Regions from separate parts of the Homo sapiens genome. Here region 2 is linked to region 1. The links are contacts of gene promoters, found by promoter capture Hi-C in blood cells and fetal thymus (Javierre and others, 2016). All regions are on one chromosome and are shown on one strand. The core of a region is centred on a gene start or on the middle of the fragment in contact, and the rest is flanking DNA. Distances in the headings are between cores, read along the strand shown.

What was found. Contacts are between HindIII fragments. The CHiCAGO score rates a contact against its expected background, and 5 or more counts as called.
Region 2: a fragment that was not itself captured here is called in contact with the fragment with the promoter of TXK in region 1 in 1 of 17 cell types (megakaryocytes); the score reaches 5.2 in megakaryocytes.

Annotation. Positions count from the first base shown.
Region 1 is chr4:48,132,899-48,135,598 of GRCh38, reverse strand. It overlaps TXK (TXK tyrosine kinase), which reads left to right and starts at 1,349. Exons shown (of 15, transcript NM_003328.3): 1 at 1,349-1,444. The coding sequence starts at 1,429. RefSeq lists a silencer at 1,613-1,907. The HindIII fragment of the contact is 7,086 bases long and covers 1-2,700 here.
Region 2 is chr4:48,431,983-48,434,682 of GRCh38, reverse strand. No RefSeq gene overlaps it. Among named protein-coding and RNA genes, the nearest start is that of SLC10A4, 50 kb to the left of the region's middle. The HindIII fragment of the contact is 5,888 bases long and covers 1-2,700 here.

The DNA of each region.
Region 1 (2,700 bases), core at 100-2,599:
CTATTTTTCCTGATATTAGCCTGATATATATATTTCCTGATATTAGCCTGGCATGCATTAGCTATTTTTCCTGATGCTCTCCCCTCATCTGCCCTCCCCAACAGGCCCCAGTATGTGTTGTTCCCCTCCCTGTGTCCATGTGTTTCATGGTTCAGTTCCCACTTATAAGTGAGAACATGTGGTGTTTGGTTTTCTGTTCCTGCATTACTTTGCTAAGGATAACGGCTTCCAGTTCCATCCATGTCCCTGCAAAGGACATGATTTCATTCTGTATAGCTGCATAATATTCCACGGTGTATATGTACCACATTTTCTTTATCCAGCCTATCATTGATGGGCATTTTGGTTGCTAACCATGCACAACTTTTAACTGACTTGTAGCTCATTGAAGGAGTCGGTCCTGGCACACTCTACCTTACTATCACTGTCAGCCTTTTCTCCTTCCTTCCTGACCTTCCCTCCTCCCATCCCATACTTCCCTTTTCACCTTGAGGAGCTACGGGAAGTACTAGGTGGTATGAAAGAGAGTGAGGAGAAGATAGAGTCCCTGTCCTAATGGTCAGTGTATGCTTTTTATGGGAAAACAAGATAGATAGCACCTGGCAACATTTGTCAACATTTCCTTCAAAAATCTTTAAATATTTTTCACTAAGACTTAGAAAAAAAGTTTTATACGAAAGCATAACAAAGGCAAAAGGTGAAGTAAAAATAACAGTCATCACCCAGAATGCTAAGGAGACCTTAATCTAAACCAGGAAATTGGAAGGGCGATTAGAATATGCTGTGTCTTCATTAAAGTTGCTCTGTTAATTAGTTGACACATGGTTATGCTTTCCAGTGGGATGAAGTGAAACTCCCAAGTGTGTTTTGTATTGTTGGTGTTTTTATATTTCTCAGCCATCCCCCAATCACATTTTAGGGTTATTACTAGATTGACTTCCCCCAAATAAAGTGTCTGCTGAGTGGGAGGATGGAACATTCTAAACTCAATATTCCAGAGCCTAGAATCTAATTGTTTCTGCCACTCACGGTGTGGCCTTGGGCAAGTCCCTTATTCTGTCTGTGCCTTCATTTCCTTCCCAGTCCAGAGAGGGCAGTTTGATTTGATAATTTTAAAGGTGCCTTTTACCAAAATTTTGTGATTTCTTGAAAATGATGTTTGCGAGTCACCCACACCTTTGGGGATGAGAGACTAATAGCAGATACCCTCAGAGATTGGGATGGAGATTACTGAGCTTTCTTATATATGCCATTGGTTGTCATTTATACTCTTCTGAGGTTTTCAGAACAGGAAAATAGGTGGGGTTAACTCTGCCCGTGAGAAACATCTTGAGCGAACTATGATTTCAGTTGAAAGATGTGTTTTTGTGAGTAGAGCACCGCAGAAGAACTGAAGACTGTTGTGTGCTCCCCGCAGAAGGGGCTACCATGATCCTTTCCTCCTGTGAGTAAGATGGGCTTTGTCATTTATTTTTGGGGCTTGTTCTGGGGCCTGTTATTCTTGAACAGCAGAGGAAGTTTTTTTTTTCCAAGGCATAGAGCTTGGGGACATTAAAAGATAATTTCCTCAGATGTTGTGACAGAGTTTTGTTTCTTATTTAAAGAACCACAGTGATGATGTAATTCTAATAAAGGTTCAGCATTGAGAACATAAATGAAAGAAAAACAGAAAGAGTGTCCAGAAATCTGCATATGTGTGTGTAGAAATGCAATCAGTATGAAGTACTTGTTTTTAGAATGAGACTGTAATGAGCTCTGGGCTGAAGGCCAGGAGACCAAGTTCTAGTTCTGGATTTGCTCCAGCAGTGGTGGATCACAGTGGGCAACTTTATATATATATAAATACACACACATACACACACACACAAATAAATATCTATATTTAAGGCAAAAGGAAGAGAAGTCAAAACACAACTGTGTTTATACTCTGAAATTATCTGCTTTATCAAGTAAACATATAGACTTAACCTTTATTTTCACAGGGGTATTTATTCACAATTCTATGTAGACTTCCGTTATCGAGGACCTTTCCCAAGCAATTGAAATTTAGGCAAAACTGATTCTTATCTGCAGTCAGAGCCTGAGTAAAGGCCAAAATAAGAGTCAAAGTCACGAGTCTCTACCTGGTTAAAAGTGTGAACATGGTCAAGTGTGAACACTGGCTCAAATGTCTCTTTCCCTCATATATAATACTACATATGAAGATGTTATTTTAATATTTTTATAGAATATAAGACCATCATTAAAAATAAGTGCTTGTTTTAGGAGAACAGAGAAAGATTCCCTAGACACTGTTATCTGTGAAGATCCTTGGTTTGAAAGAGCTGTGGGGGATGCTTATAAATCCAAAGAAATTAGAATAAAAAAAAAAACCAAGCAGAATAGTCTTCTAAATAAGAAGGCAGCCGTCATATCAGAATTGCAATGTGTTTGTTTCTTTATAAAGGTATTTATTGAGCACCTACTATGGGCCATGGTCTATACCAGTTCCTTTATATTCATTATCTGAAATCTTCACTACAAACTGGCAAGGTGAAAATTGTTATTCTTATCTAGCCAATAAGAAAATTGTGCCTTTGAAAGTTTAAATCTTGCCAGAAACTCATATGGTTGTCAGACGCAGGATTTAAGTATGAGACTTTTTTTTTTTTTTTAGACAGAGTCTTGCTCTGTCACCCAGGCTGGAGTGCAGTGGCACGA
Region 2 (2,700 bases), core at 192-2,691, 300 kb before region 1:
TTTTTTTTCTTGTTGATTTTGTTTAAGCTCCTTATAGATTCTGGATACTTGTCCTTTGTCAGATGCCTAGTTTGCAAATATTTTCTCCCATTCTGTAGATTATCTGTTTACTCTTTTGATAGTTTCTGTTGCTGTGCAGAAGCTCTTTAAGTCATATTTGTCAATTTTTGTTTTTGTTGCATTTGCTTTTGAGATCTCAGTCATAAATTCTTTGCCTAAGCCAATGTCCAGAAGAGTTTTTCCCAGGTTTTCTAGGATTTTTATAGTTTGATTCAATCTGGCAATCCCACTACTGGGTGTTTACTCAAAAGAAATCGTTCTATCAAAAAGATACATGCACTTGTATGTTCATCGCAGCACTATTCACAATAGCATTTATATATTTAATATATTTATATTATTAAAATATATAAATTATATAAATGAAATCAACCTAAGTGTCCATCAACAAATGACTGGATAAAGCAAATGTGATACACACACACCACAGAATACTACACAGCCATAAAAAAGAATAAAAATCATGTCCTTTGCAGTCACATGGACACAGCTGGAGGCCATCATCCTAAGTGAATTAACTCAGAAACAGAAAATACCGCATGTCCTCATATATAAGTGGGAGCTAAACAATGGGTACATATGGATAAAAAGATGGGAACAGTAGACATTGGGGATTCCAAAAGGGGAGAGGCTGAAAAACTACCTACTGGATACTATGTTCGCTGTTTGGGTGATGGGTTAAATAGAACCCCAAATTCCAGCATTATGCAAGACTCTCATGTAAAAAATCTGCACATGTACCCTCTGAATCTAAAATAAAAGTTGAAATTATATAAACAAATATATAAACAAACAAGACACCTTTGCCAGGTGCAGTGGCTCATGCCTGTAATTCTGCAACTGGGGAGATTGAAGTGGGAGGATTGTGAGCCCAGAAGTCCAAGGTTACAGGGAGTTGTGATCGTGCCACTGCACACCAGCCTGGGTGACAGAACGAGACTCAAAAAACCACACCTTCATCTCATATTTCTATAAACCACCTTAAATCCTTTTGGGGACAAAACCGGCTTAAAAAAAAAATAAATTCAGTTGCTGCAATTGAGCGTCATATATGGATCTAAACTTTCGGGCAACAGGGACAAAAATGCAAACATGATAAATCACATAGGTCTTGTATTGAAGGAGAGCCCCAGTTCCTCAAAAGAGACAATGATTTTTCCAGATACTGCATTCTAGAAAAAAATTCTCACATGGGCCTTTATATAGGGGATATTGAGTCACATAAGGAACAATGCTCTTGATAATTTTACACCAGAGGCAGAAGCAGCTTTTGTTCTTCATAAACCCTTGATAAAGCCAAATGCATAATATTAGAGTAAAATTCATGAAAATGCTTCTCGTGGTGCAAATACAAAACTCATGATGCCATGAATGGAGAAGGCTGAAACAATGAAGAGTGCATTCACAGACTAGATTGAACTCATTTCATTAAGTAAAACAAGTTTTTTGAGGGGAGCAAGGAAAACAGCGGTTATATTTCTCTTTTACTGTTTGAAAAAGCAGTGGGTATACATATGGACATGATAAAGAATTCAAACAGGGCTAGGTGGGGTGGGTGTGCGCCCCTAGTCCCAGCTACTCAGGAGGCTGACTGACGTGGGAGGATCGCTTGAGCCCAGGAGTTCAAGGCTGTAGTGAGCTATGATCACGCTGCACTCCAGCCTGGCCAACAGACCCCGTCTCTTAAAAAAAAAAAGAAAAAAAAAAAAGAAAAAAGAATTAAAATACTCAGGTAAAATGCTGGTTCCTTATCTCCTTACCACTGTTAGCTGTGTCTCCCACTCCCGTCTTCACAGGTAACCAGTTACCTGTTTCTTTTGTATCCCTTCAGAAGCAGTCATTGTTAACAGAGCAAATATGACACACAAACCTTTTTATTCCAAATGGCATTTTGACACCTTGTTTTTACTTTTCATGATGCATCGTGGGTGTCTTTCCATATCATTACACATAGAGCTATTATATCTTGATCTTGGTAATAGGTGCCTAATATTTCAGTGAATGTTTCATAATTTAACCAGTTTCCTATTGAGGGACATTTAAGTCCAGCCTTGTTTGTCCACAAATACTACTATATACATATTCTTGTATTCTTATCTACACAAGCACATAGACAGGTACACCTATAAGATAATTAGAAGTGGAATCAATGGGTCCAAATGTACATTTTTTAAATTTATTTTTTTGTAGAGATGGGGTCTACTATGTTGCCTAAGTTGGTCTCAAAAAACTTCTGGTCTCAAGCAATCCTCCAGCCGTGGCCTCTCAAACTTGGGATTATAGGTGTGAGCCACCGTAGCCAGGCCAAAGGTATGTTTTAAATTTTGTTGTGTTTCAAATTGCTCTCTAAAGAGACTCCCATCAGCAATGCTTTCATTCAGTAAATATTTGTGTGCCTACCATGTGCCAGGCACTGGTCTAGGTATTTGCCAAGAGTTGATAAACAAAAATGATCTCTGCCTCCATGAACCATATATGGTATACATGCATGCGGGTGTGTGTGGGTGTGTGTGCCCACATGCAAGGGCATGCACACGAGTGGAGGGAGAAGAGAAAGCTGGCATAATAATGAGTTAATTATATGGGATGCTTGGAGGTGATAAGTGCTATGGAAAAGAGGAAGAGTTTGGTTAAAAAAAA